3 separate regions of the Homo sapiens genome follow, and all the other regions are linked to region 3. The links are contacts of gene promoters, found by promoter capture Hi-C in blood cells and fetal thymus (Javierre and others, 2016). All regions are on one chromosome and are shown on one strand. The core of a region is centred on a gene start or on the middle of the fragment in contact, and the rest is flanking DNA. Distances in the headings are between cores, read along the strand shown. Region 1 holds the start of EFCAB11 (EF-hand calcium binding domain 11). Region 2 holds the start of NRDE2 (NRDE-2, necessary for RNA interference, domain containing). Region 3 holds the start of BTBD7 (BTB domain containing 7).

The links. The method cuts DNA at HindIII sites, captures the fragments that hold promoters and counts their contacts. A CHiCAGO score of 5 or more calls a contact.
Region 1: the fragment with the promoter of EFCAB11 here is called in contact with the fragment with the promoter of BTBD7 in region 3 in 1 of 17 cell types (non-activated CD4 T cells); the score reaches 5.7 in non-activated CD4 T cells.
Region 2: a contact is called between the fragment with the promoter of NRDE2 here and the fragment with the promoter of BTBD7 in region 3, in 3 of 17 cell types (fetal thymus, total CD4 T cells and naive CD8 T cells). The highest score is 10.6, in fetal thymus.

Annotation. Positions count from the first base shown.
Region 1 is chr14:89,953,310-89,957,973 of GRCh38, forward strand. EFCAB11 (EF-hand calcium binding domain 11) reads right to left here and starts at 1,421. Exons shown (of 6, transcript NM_145231.4): 1 at 1,277-1,421; 2 at 597-692. The coding sequence starts at 1,351. It overlaps TDP1 (tyrosyl-DNA phosphodiesterase 1), which reads left to right and starts at 2,618. Exons shown (of 17, transcript NM_018319.4): 1 at 2,618-2,661; 2 at 3,269-3,491. RefSeq lists an enhancer at 1,150-1,650 and a silencer at 2,716-2,945. The HindIII fragment of the contact is 3,728 bases long and covers 1-2,960 here.
Region 2 is chr14:90,328,797-90,333,278 of GRCh38, forward strand. It overlaps NRDE2 (NRDE-2, necessary for RNA interference, domain containing), which reads right to left and starts at 3,145. Exons shown (of 14, transcript NM_017970.4): 1 at 3,045-3,145. The coding sequence starts at 3,108. RefSeq lists an enhancer at 2,899-3,078 and a silencer at 3,229-3,378. The HindIII fragment of the contact is 5,093 bases long and covers 404-4,482 here.
Region 3 is chr14:93,330,966-93,335,297 of GRCh38, forward strand. BTBD7 (BTB domain containing 7) reads right to left here and starts at 2,071. Exons shown (of 11, transcript NM_001002860.4): 1 at 1,855-2,071. It also overlaps a transcript of UNC79 not described here. The HindIII fragment of the contact is 5,146 bases long and covers 1-3,128 here.

The DNA.
Region 1 (4,664 bases), core at 171-2,670, 3.4 Mb before region 3:
TGATATATTGTTAAATGAGAAAAGCAAGTTAAAGTAGGCACAATATTTACCCATTTATGTTTTCAATAAAAGACTATGCATATGTATGTCATGGATAGAAAATTTCAGAATTACACAAAAAAACTGTTAATGGTAATCCCCTAGGAGTGGGACCCTCTGGTAGGCGGCGAGCGGATTTTATGCTCAACTTTATACCTTTCTGCACTGTTTTAATTTTTTGACCGTGGATGTATTTTATAAACAAAGCAACAAAAGTAAAACGAGAAAGAGACTATGTCATGTCCTATGTAAATTTCTCCTGTTACCAACACTCCCCTCTCAGTCTTCCCTCTTGGCACCTCTCTAGCATCTTGTATTTATAGTAGTTATTAGCAGCCTGGTGGTGAGATAGGCTTGTGTAGACTCCAGTGGAAAAGATTTCTACTTCATCTCTGGGCTGAGGTGTTAAGAGGAAGCTAAAATTCAGCACTGGACACATCTCTGAAATTGCTTATAAAGCAATTTATAAACATCCTAAGCTAGCCCTGTGAACTTTTCTTAGGATCCATTCACCTTTGATCGTCTACCCCATCCCCAAATATATAAGAAAGCTCTACCTTGGAGGGCTTGTACCCAAACAGCATTACAACAGCAGTTTTAAAGTCCTCTCTGCTGAGATATCCTTTGTGATCTTCATCACATGCTTTAAATACCTGAAGAACATTAAATAGCTTTAGTTAATGAGACAGAAATGGTTTATTTTTATTACTAGTTTATTATACAGTTTGGACCTCGAAAATCTAAAACTTGGCCCAGCGGTAGAGTATGAAAATAGAATTTCATTATCCCAATATTAATTCTCAAGAAATCTTAAAGATGGACTGAAATTTTCTTAAACATGGGCTGAAATTTCCCTCAAAGTGCAAACGAGTTAACCGCTAGGTGACGCAAATTAATTCATTTAGGCCACTGAGATAAATTCTACCCAAAATTCAGTCCTGGAGTTAGGAAGGTGAGGCAAAGGGGCTGGCTTTGAAAGGCGGGAGAGATGCAGACTCAAGGTTACCATTAATAGACTATATAGAGAGAAAGGAGATGGAACTTGGAGGTAGCCGTAGTCCTGGACGGGGAGCCAGGAGCCCTGCAGCTCCAGGATCAGTCATTAACCACGACCCTTTGGACAGGCAGCCCAGGTCTTATCTGCACACCCGGCAGAGTGAGACCCAGACACGGGAGAGGAAGCGAGAGGCCCAGGCCAAGCTGAAGTCCGAGGCTCAGTCGCCCTCCGGAAACCTACTTCCACCCACTTCCTGTGTTCCGAGGGACTGGCTTCCCACGTCCGCGACCTGGCTCTGGCCTCGGAGAAGAACATCGCGACTACAACAACCGAGCCCCAGCAACCCAACCAGCTACCACCGCTTTCCCAGCCTGGCTGGCAGCCTACCGCGGCCACGCCCACCGCGGCTCAGGAAGCCGAACTTCACCGCGCAACTCCGACGTCTCCTCCCATTGGACAACCTGCCAGCCACTCGCGTTAATCCCGCAGGGCTATTGGCCAGAGTCTTTGTTTAATTACGTTTCCTTGGAGCCGCCCTGGCAGTGAGGCGCCCAGGCCTGCCCCCAGCACTTGGCTCCACCCCCTGACTGTCCCTTAACTCGTTGAGCGCGGCTGGAAATCCAAGCGCTTCTAGGTGCTGGTTCAATGCCTGGTTCATGATTTATTTCATTCTCTCCCTCCATCTTGCAATAGGTTACTTTTAATCATTTAGATCTATGACACTATGCTAAACGTTATAGGAGACAAAAAGACTGTGAACAAACAAGAAGAACCAAACGAAAAGAGCCAAGTCCAGGATTCTCGTTCAGATCAGCAAGTCATTGGGATCGAGCTCCTAGGGCAGCTACTACATCTGTTATGTCCTCAAGATAATCCCAGCACCTAGCACTGTGCCTGGCACAAAGTAGATCTTCAATGAAAGAACGAAACGAGCCGTTATATTTACACAGATGTATTTCACTCAGTCCTCTGGAAGAGATGCCTAGTGTGAAAGAGATTCCAAGAATAAATACCATAAACAGCACCGAGCCCAAATCCCACAGCAAACATCCTTATTAAAGGCAAGGAACGTGGGGCGAGTTCCTTTTCTCAGAAGATTTTACGAGAACGCAACTGTTGCGAAGAAGGAACAGACATTCGAGGTTCTGAGTCCAATGGGAACTCATTTAACTTTTTATTTTGCAGCAGATTTCAAAGTCTGCACCCAGCCCCTCCCAGGACACAGGTCTCCTTGCAGCTGCCTTTAACCTAAGCGTATCCTCTCTCCACTTTAAACCAAACGCCGCTGCATGGAGCCCTGGGAGCCTGAGCCATGAGAATCCTGTAAAGAGGGTGAGTCTTGCTATTAGTTAACTAGAGCGAAGTTAGGGGACGCCTTTCTGGTTCTCCTCTCGTTTTAAGAAGTCTCCAGGAAGTAAGCCAAGAGCTAGGAGAGACCAGGTTTCCCCAGCCCCGTCCTGGGTAAACACCCGGCGGGCTTTAGGACCCAGCGGTGGGCTCTCCGGAAGGGGAAGGGGCCGGGCCTCGAGGCACAAGCCGCTGCCGCCAGGGTTTGAACTGCGCGCATGCGCGGCGGCCGCCGAAGGGGCGGGATCCGAGGCAAGCGTTGGTTCTGTGCGCCTCAGGTACGTGTTGGGCGGCAGTGGGCGCGGACTCGGTGCGGTCTCTCGCGGGCTGCGGTCGGGCCCGGGATCCTGCTCCTGGCCGAGTCGCGGTGCGCGGGCTGCTGGGGTCCGGCAGGGCTGGAGGCGGACCGCGAGGAAGCGGCGCGGCCGGGAAGATGGGGCAGGGTCGCCTCGGCCCCGGGGCCTCGGTTTCCTCCGATCACAGCGCCTCAGGGGGCGCGCACGGGCGCTGCGGAGACCTGTGTCCTGCCGGGGCGCGGCGCTAGGGGCCCCTGCTCGGGTTTTTATTCCCAGACCTAAGCTTACAGGTGCGTGGTCCCAGAAAGTGAGTAGGAAAGCGCCCACCACGTGCCAGGCGCTTAAGCTTTCTGTGCTCGGTTTCCCAGTATAGGAGGACGGTCACGGTACGTAGTATAGAGTTGTCCTGAGGGTGAAGCGAGTTTACACTTGGTGAGGCGCTTCGAATCGTGCCTGGCCGGCCCCAAATGAGCACGCAGTAAGGTTAGCAGCTGCTGCCGTCACTTCCTCACGTTCTGAATCTGCTCCGTCCCCAACGCCTTCAGCAAGAGCCCTCTCACTTCCTTTGTCTTCAACCCATTCTCCGCAGAGTTGGAGCACACAGCTGTATTAAAAAGGCAAATCGAAGGCCGGGCGCGGTGACTCACGCCTGTCATCCTAGCACTTTGGGAGGCCGAGGCGGCTGAATCACTTGAGGTTAGGAGTTTGAGATCAGCCCGGGCAACATGGTGAAACCCCGTCTCTACAAAAATAGAAAAATTAGCCGAGCGTGATGGTGGATGCCTGTAATCCTAGCTCCTCGGGAGGCTAAGGTAGGAGAATTGCTTGAACCTGGGAGGCAGAGAGGTTGGAGTGAGCCGAGATTGCGCCATTGCGCTCCAGCCTGAGCGGCAGAGCGAGACTCTGTCTCAAAAAAATAAATGTAAATCGGACTCCCCTTCTTAAAGCCCTCAGTGGGGTCCCATTGATCATTGCATAAAATCCAATTTCTTTAACAAGTCTTCTCCCCTCACCCGCTTCGGACCACTGCCTGCCTTGCCTAAGTCCTTTCTTATGACCTCTTTCCCACCTCTGCCGGCTGGGTTCCCTCTACTTGGGAATGCTCTTCACCCCATCATTTAGACAGCAGGTTCCTTTTGGCCCTCTGGGTCTCATTTATATGTTACTTTTTAAGTATATTCCAAAGGTCACCCCTATTTTTCTGTCTCATACTTATAAAATGTAATGAATGTCTAACTCATCTTGGCTATTAAAATTTTTATGTGTGGGTCTGTCTCTTCTGCCCTGAAATTAGCTCTGCTAGGGTAGAAACTATATTGTTAACGCCTCATTCCCAGTTTTTGGTACATAATAGCTGCCCAGTAAGTTATTGAATGAATGAACTCCAGGGGGTAAGCATGATATCCATTTCACAGACTAAAAAACTGAGGCTCAGCAGTTAACTAACCTGCCCAAGTGCACATTTACTCCCTAGTCATGGCCGGGTTTGAGACAAGGGACCATGTTTGCCTATTACTGGCCACACAGGAACTCAATTGAGGAGCATGGCCTCCAGGCCCAGCTGATGGTCTTTAAGCTCAATGAGAAGGAGCAGCTGGAGGTGAAAGAGAAATGCCCCAGCTGGGTCTCATATAGTGGGGAGTGAGGAAACACTAGTAGCTCTAAATGGAGTACCCTTTTATATCCACAACATGTTTTAAAGTCCTTAATAAAAGTGCTAACAGTGTCCTGAGCTAGCATTTGGTGGGAAGATTTCTTAGATTTTTCATGTTAGTGCAGTGTTTGCCAAATTTCACTCACACTCACCTGCCTTCTCCCCAGTTTGCTTTATTCTCTTAACACATGACACAGGATTTATTTCAGGGCCGCTTTGCCAGCTGGAGACCTCCAGCCCTGGGCTGGCTGCAGGAGGTGCCCTGCCCACTCAGCCTGGCAGAATGCATTTGTCTTTCATCCCCGCCCAGATCCCGTGGCCACTATGACTG
Region 2 (4,482 bases), core at 1,895-4,394, 3.0 Mb before region 3:
CAAATGACACGGTTTCCTCAACAGATCGATCACATGGAATGAAGGAGAGGAAGAAACCGATTTATACTGAAAGAGACCTAAGGCATATATCCACAAAATGCAATGTTGGCTGTATTTTGGAAATTGACTTGGACAATCCAACTGTAAAATCCCATTTTTGAAACATCTCGTGAAATTTGAACACTGACTGGTAAGTGAAAATGACCAGAAAAGAATTAAGGCTTTTTTCCATTACAAGAGATGATGCTGTGTTTATATTTTTTCAAAAGACAATACTTTATAAAACATACTTTTACACACATTTTCCTGATTGTAGATATCCAGAGGATGTCAAATAAATACTATTTAAGAGTAAGACTCCTCTGCAAAAGTTCGATTTCCCCCTCTCAAAATAAAAGGATAAAGCTTTGACATGTTATTAAAGATCACTATCCTCCATCACCACCAGCCCAACCATATTTCCCAAGGCTCCTCTTTATGCCACTACACCTCCAGACAAACTAGATGATTTGCAGTTCTCACACTTTTCTTCTGCAGGACTTGAAGGCCCTGGTATACACTTCCCCCATTTTATTTGTCCAAATCCTACTCTCTTGAAGATCCATCCAAAACTTAGCTCCTGGCTAGGCACAGTGGCTCACGCCTGTAATTCCAGAACTTTGGGAGGCTGAGGCAGGAGGATCACTTGAGCCCAGCAGTCTGAGATCAGCCTGGGCAACATAGCAAGACCCTGTCCCTACTTAAGAAAAAAAAAAGTAGGCTGGGTACGTTGGCTCACACCTGTAATCCCAGCACTTTGGGAGGCCGAGGTGGGCGGATTATCTAAGCTCAGGAGTTCAAGACCAGCCTGGCCAACATGGTGAAACCCCATTTCTACTAAAAATACAAAAAATTAGCCAGGTGTGGTGGTGCATGCCTGTAATCCAAGCTACTCGGGAGACTGAGGCACAAGAATCACTTGAAGCCAGGAGGCGGAGGTTGCAGTGAGCTGAGATTGTGCCACTGCACTCCAGCCTGGGTGACAGAGTGAGACTGCCTCAAAAAAAAAAAAAAAAAAAGTAAAAGAAAAAAATATTAGTTCCTACATAAAGCCTTCTTTGAACCTTCTATTAGAAGTAATTATTCCTGGGCTGGGTGTGGTGGCTCACAACTGTAATCCCAGCACTTTGGGAGGCTATGGTGGGCGAATCACTTAAAGTTAGGAGTTCGAGACCAGCCTGGCCAAAACAGTGAAACCCCATCTCTACTAACAATACAAAAATTAGCCGGGCATGGTGGTGAGTGCCTGTAGTCCCAGCTACTCGGGAGGCTGAGGCAGGAGAATCACTTGAACCCAGGAGGCGAAGGCTGCAGTGAGCCAAGATCGTACAATTACACTCCAGCTTGGGCGACAGAGCAAGACTTGGTCTCAAAAAAAAAAATAAATAAATAAATAAATAAAAAGAAGTAATTAATCCTGCAGTTCACCTATGGTATCTGTAATATCCCACCTTGTACTATACACTTCTTTTAGGTGCACTCATGCATTCCTGCAACACGTAATTATTAAGTAACTACTATCGATCTGTACATCCAGAAAATATTTATTGAACACCTATTATACTTTGGACCTGTGCTAGGGGCTAACTATGCTACAATGAATAGACAAACACTGCCCAACCTGATAGAGATTACAGTCTAGTAAGGGAAGACAACAATTTTACACAAGAAATTACTCACAATTATGAGAAATAGGACAAGCGCAGTGGCTCATGCCTGTAATCCTAGAACTTTGGGAGGCTCAGATAGAGAATCGCTTGAGCTCAGGAGTTCGAGACCAGCCTGGTCAACACAGTGAGACCTCGTCTCTACTAAATATTAAAAAAAATTAGCCAGGCCTGGTGGTGCACACCAGTAGTTCCAGCTATTCATGAGGCTGAGGCAGGAAGTTAAGCCCAGGAGTCTGAGGCGGCAGTGAGTTATGACAGTGCCACTGTACTCCAGCCTGGGCAACAGAGTGAGACCCTGTCTCAAAAAAAAAAAAAAAAATTAGGAGAAACGTTACAGAAAGTGTAGGAACTATATTAGAGGATATAACAGACAGGTAAGACTCAATTGCGCCCTGTCACATATGGCACATAATTTAGAATTACTTTTTTTTCTTTTTTTTTTAGAGACAAGGTCCCCCCACCCCAGGGCAGGATGCAGCGGCACGATCATGGCTCACTGCGGCCTCAAACTTCTGGGCTCAAGCAATCCTCCTACCTCAGCCTCCTGAGGAGCTGATACTATAGGTGTGCACCACCACGCCTGGCTTTTTTTTTAAGAGACAGGAGTCTCGCTATGTTGATCATGATGGTCATGAACTCCCGGGCTCAAACTATCCTTCCACCTACAGGTGTGGGCCACTGCTCCTGGCCAGGATTAATTACTTCTTAAATGAACTATGTACCCCAATTTTGAACAATGCAGCTCTGCTGGAAATGTCTGGGACTTAAGTAAAATGTGTAAAGCCATAACCTGATACACACTAGGCCCTCAAGAATAAATGTTAGTTATTTTCACTGGGTGCTGTGCCCCTCCAGAGAGAAACTGATTAGGTTTTGGATACTAATCCCCTAGCTCTAGGCCGCTAAGTAATACCAATCTAATAAGCATTTCAGAAATAAGTATAACAGGAAAGGAAGTAATATGTAATAAAAACATTCTGCATTTGCATCAAGGGTTTCCTCGAGATGTCGAGTATCATTATTCCCAATTTAAAGATGAAGTAACTGAGGCTCGAAAAGAAGAACAGGACCTAACAACATCGTACAGAAGTCCCAGCTCCAGGGCATCTGCTGGTCTTTCTCCACCCCTCCATAACTCTACAACCTTGGTCCAGAACAGGCCTCTGGGCCCCAGACCTCGGAGGGATTGAGCCTTTCCCAGAAGGCTTTGCAGCGCCGCGGAGAACTCTGGGATACAAATGGATACACAAATCCAAAGCAAAAGTCTAGACCTGGGCCCGAGAAACAGCCTCTTAAGCCCCCCAGGTGCCTTCTTCGGCTCGTTTGTGTGCTTACCTTTCCTGGAGCTCCCGCCATCGGGAGCCTCACTAAGCCCCGCAAAGGCTGGGAACAGCGCCATGACCACAGGCCGTACCTCCGTTCTTCTCTATAGGGATGGCGCCGGCGAGCGAGCGCCGGTCTGAGGACCCCTGCCGTCGCGGTGCACTCTGGGAAATGTGGTTTTCGCGGCGCTCTCTGGGGCTTGACCCCGAAGCGGGAGGGGCGGGGCCCAGAGAGGAGGGTCGTCAAGGGACTGGGGCGCGGCGGGGCAGGGAGAGGCAGGGCAAAGCAGGGTGGGGCGGGGCCAAGGGGGGCGGAGCGAGGAGTGACGGGTTCCTAGTGGTTGGGACCCTGTGAGAACCGGAACTGCGAAAACCGGAGAAGGGAATTGTTGACCGCGAAAGGGACTAAGGAAATTGGGATTCCAGTTCGACCCCTAAATTCACACCATCCTTGCTAACTGGGTCAACTTAAACGCTCTAAGCATTACTTTCCTTATCTGCAAAATATTGAGAAGATTAAATGAACATATTTATAAAGGGCCTAGCATTGAGTCCGGCCCATGAAAAGCACTTAATATGTGTTAGCTATTATGTGAATTACGACTGCAAGTTCGGCTCAAAGTCATGTGAGATATCCGAACTTCAATCAGGTTACCATATTAAATACCCCAGAACAAGGAAAAATGGAAAGTCCCATCAAGTTCAAGGGTCTTTGATAGTTAGGAAATACCTGTCTGTGAAGCATTCTTGACCCCGGTTCCTCCCACCCAAAATCTAATCACACTTGCTACCAGAAATATAGAGAGTAAAGGAACAACTTAGAAGACTTTGTACTACCAAGAAACAATTAGCCAAATCTAGAATATGGGAAATTATAGAAAACAACCGTGCTTCCTTAACATATCAAGGGCTTTAAGAGGGCAGGAGATTGTAATAGATACGAAGATCTTACAGACACATCAAGCAAATACAACATATTTGTGGCCTCATTATAATTCTGATTGGACAAACTGTAAAAAGACCTTTTTAAGATAGATGGAGAAATAAGAAGGTAGGCAGAGTACAAGCAATTCACAAGTAATTCTTGTGAATTCTGTTAGATGTACTAAAGTACTTATGTCACTGAGGTGACCCTTATTTATTTATTTTGAGACAAGGTCTCCTTCTGCCACCCAGGCTGGAGTGTAGTGGTACGATCTCTGCTCACTGCAGCTTCGAACTCCTCGATTCAAGCAATCCCCTCACCTCAGCCTCCCAAGTGGCTGGAACCACAGGCATACACCACCATGTCTGGCTTAATTTTTTTTTTTTTAATAGAGACAGGGTTTCACCATGTTGCCCAGGCTGGTCTCGAACTCCTGGGCTCAAGCGATCTGCCCCCCTCTGCCTCCCAAAGTGCTGGGTGCCTGTGCCTGAGCACCCCCCAACCCAGCCTGAGATTACTTTTTAAA
Region 3 (4,332 bases), core at 821-3,320:
GTGGGACAGAATATTGACCTATGAGTTTTACTGAATTCATGCAAGAATGAGCCATGCTAAAACTGGGTGAAAATGTAGTCATGAGCCTAAGAAAACTCCAAACGAAATATCACTCCGTTTTTATTAAGTTCAGGTTAGGAAAAAAAAAAAATCTTCATCAGTTACTTGAAGTAGCTGTCAGAATGAGACAGAGGCTCTCATTTTCGCTTTCAACTTTATTACACCAAAACCCTATGGATAGGGGTAGGTAGTGAATGGTGAAGAATGCAATCAATGAAAAGTAAGCAGCTCAGCAGTGTAGTAACAATGAGCTCTCTAAATGGGGTAATGGGGTGTAGAGGCCTACATCTTAGTTTTGGTCTAATCCATCGCCAGCTGTAGGATCCACAACAAGTCACTCGCCTCTCTGGGTCTGGTTTCCCGGCTCTAAAACAATATTCACACCTTTAGATCTCTAAAAGTTTTTCTGACTCCAAAATTCCATGACAAGTCTAATAACAGTTGCTATTAACAACGTATGATTCTTGCAAAGCAATTTCAAGTCTTTCTTCCACATTTCAGGAAGAAAGCAATTCATTTCAGCAATCTAAAGGAAACAGATGCTATTAGGGACAAAAGATTGTTAGTTGACCAGACCGGGCGCGGTGGCTCACGCCTGCAATCCCAGTAGTTCGGAAGGACGAGGCGGGCGGATCACCAGAGGTCAGGAGCTCGAGACCAGTCTGGCCAACATGGTGAAACCACGTCTCTATTAAAAATACAAAAACTAGCCGGGCGTGGCAGCGGGCGCCTGTAATCCCAGCTACTTGGGAGGCTGAGACAGGAGAATCGCTTGAACCTGAGAGGCGGAGGTTGCAGTGAGTCGAGATCGCACCACTGTTCTCCAGCCTGGGTGACAGAGCGAGACTCCGTCTCCCCCCCCCCAAAAAGGTTGTTAGTTGAAAAAGCTAAGTAATTCTGTAAAAATGTCTACTTTCTCATTACAGTAAGATGTTTTCGCAGAGTTAACAGTGCTCTGGTGTAGATAACCAAGACTGCTTCTGTAAATTAGGCCTACTCCAGAGTACTTATTATCTGTGCTGGTATGTGAAGACGTGCAATTGTAGTTCACAGGAGAAACAACACTCCTCAGAGTTTCTTGAAAAACGGTGAGAAAGTTCTCACCCTCGGGGTAAAGCTAGCAAACACTGTGCAAATAAGGTACTGAAATATGCACACTTTTTGCCATTCAAGTAGTCCAACAAGCACAGCCTCCTCTTCTTTATCAAACACTCGGTATTGTCTCCCTCCCAACCTGTCAAAGCTCAATTCCAGGTTTATCCCGCAATAGTAACTTACCCGGACAATCTAACTTCCCCTGGGAGTAGCAGTCCTCAGGCCTGCTCCCTTCCCAGACCCCGCCGGCCACTCTCACGCCCACCCCTGGCGGTCGCAACCCCGCACCCGGGTAAACACGCGCCCCCGTCTCGGGAGCGGTTTCTCAGCGTCCTGGGAGCGACGGGTCCCGCCCCTCGGCGCCCGGAGCCCAAAGCCGGCCGGGCTGCCGTCGCGACTCCCTCGGGCCGCTCTCCCCGCCCCGAGCGCCACACCTCGCGCCCCTGCCCCAGGGACGGCGGCGCGCTCCAGCCCGCCCCTCGGAGCGCACAGAGACCGGCCAGTCCGGCGCCGCCGCGCCTCAGCCCCAGACGGACGACTGGCCCCTCCCCGCCCGGCGCCCCAGCGCCTCCCGCGGCGGCTTGGCCCCAGCCCCGGCGCCCCCACGCCTAAGAACAGCCCCTTCCTCTCCCGGACGCCCCGCGCCACACCGGACACAGCCTCGGCTCCACAGCCTCAGAGACACCAAGGGACACTCACCCCGGAGGCTCCTCCCGCCGCTGCTGCTGCCGCTGGGACCGCTGCCGTCGCCTCCGCCGCCGCCGCCACCAGCACCGCCGTCCGCACCGGCGCCAGCACCCCCGGCCATCCTCCTCCCACCGCCGCCGCCGCCGCCCTCTCCTCTCCTGTCAGTGGCTCAGGCTCCGGGACTGCTCCAGGTTCCCCTCGCCGCCATTTTGACTCCTAGACGGAGCAGGAGGGGCTCGGTTCGGCGTGGCCCTGGGGCGCCTGCGCGGCGCTGCGGAGCCGGCCGGAGCCCCCGCCCTCCCCTGCCGTCGTCCCGCTCAGGGTCACGTGGCCCGACGTCGCCGCGCGAGTCGGGCCGCGTGGGGGGGCGGTGCGTTCGCTGGATCCATGGGAGCGGAGTGCGCGCGCATTATTTTTGCTCGTCGGCTGGGAGCCGGGCGTCGGGTCGCTGGGAGTTTGCCTCTTGTGGCAGCATCCTGCTTAGTCCAGCGAATTGTGACACATTATTAAATGTATCAGAATATAAGAACTGTGTCACTACTACGTCACCAGATGGCCATTTCCACGAATTCATGTTTCCGTTCGGCGGCCGGCGTCCCTCGGGTGGTCGCATGCAATGAGTGCATCTTTCTCGAGAACAACTCTTCCGCGGAAAGTCATTGCTGACAGTCCTGGCATTCCGGTGGCTGCTTCTTGGCAGTGAGCACTTGTCTATCGTAAGCACTTGTCTGCATGGTACTTTTACAGGCACCACCTTGCTACTTGTGTAGTAGGTTAAAAAATAATCTTTAAGACACTGAAAAGTTTTCCTTAACAAGATACCCCTGTAAACAAAGGACAAAATTGATGAAAACACACAGTCGCCACGTGGGAGAGCCAAGTCGCTCTTCCCTAGATGCCCCTTGTTTGGGGGTTTGCAATAATTTCAGCGATGCAATAACAAAAATACTGTATTTATGGGGCACTGTCGTTTTCCAGAGAGATCCATGGTTTCATTTGAACGCCAAAGCCACCCTTTGTGGTAGTCAGGATAGGTGTTTTTATTGCTGTTTTACAACCAAGGAGACAGGCTCAGAAATACTAACAAGTAGGCAAGCCAAGATCAGAACCCAGGCATTCTGAACCCAGTGAGGAGGCACCGTTACACCTCCTTTTCCTCTGATAGACATTAGCAACTCTGGGAATTTATTTGAAAGTATTGTATTTGCATTTTCAATCTCTACCCATTGTTTAACAAGTTTTGTGTCACACAGTTTTTTGTTGTTGTTGTTCTGAAACCACCTCTAAGCTTCAAAGGATAAGAGCAATTTGGAATTTTGTGATGTGTTTTTAACCATCTCTTGACCCTCCATTATTTTATGCTTTTCATATTCAGTTGGAGACAATATCATTGTTGTTTTCCTCTGGACTTCCTTCAGATTTGTATTTTCCTCACCCTCATTCTTCATCACCTTACTTCCTTGAAAAGGATAGCTCTTTCCAATTTGTATTACTTCATTTTCTTTACCCATCTCACCCTTTTCACCCTCTTACCCAATCCTTGAAGGTTTGGAGATTGTAGCAGAGATTGTAGCAGTCCCTTGCCTGAAATTCCCCTCTAGCTGGTAAGGGTCACTTCAGTTGAACATACAGCCTCAGGGCGATAGACAAGAAATGCATGGAAAAGTGAGAAAATATAAAAGAAATAGGTCCATCTAATTGGAGCCAATGATTACCTCTGAGTGTCCACCTCTTGTTCCACACTTTTATACTTCCCCAAAGGCGTAAGTGAACCTTATCTAAATTCAAGCCATTTACTGTTATTTTCCATCATTTTACCTTTGTCTTAATTTGCTAAATACAGTTAACACTTGAACAACACGGGTTTGAACTGTGCGGATCGATCAATGCAACCTGGTACATGGGATTCTAAACACCGTATTGAGAGGGCCGACTTTTCTTATACTCACATTCCACAGGACGGACAGGCAGACTTGAGTATGCTTGGATTGGGGTATATGTGGTGGGTCCTGGAACCAATCCCACGTATATAGTATATGGGGGATGACTGTATTGCATTAACTGAAAGAGCTATGATTAGCAAACTAAAAAGCGGTGTGTAAACACTGCTTCTTTATAATTTATGGAAATGTTAAATAAGATCAGTCCCCACTGTTTACACTTATTACTAACCTTTATTACTTGACTTTGCTTCTATTTCCTAGCCACAATTTAAAAAACAAAATTAAAATGGTATCAACAACAATAGAATTCTAAGTAATTTCAGGATAACACTTTTTCTAACAGCCTTTGATGTGGAAATCTAAAACTTTTTGAAAAGCCAAGTAAGGTCTGCTGGTTGCACCTTGTCCTTTTGTCTATCTGCACAGCTGGAGACTTCTAGTAGACTGTTTGGATCTAGAAACCATTTGTAAGTGATCCATGATTTTTTTCTACCCTTTAATTCATTCACTGTTTCCTTATTATACCATTTAACTGTACTTTTGAGAT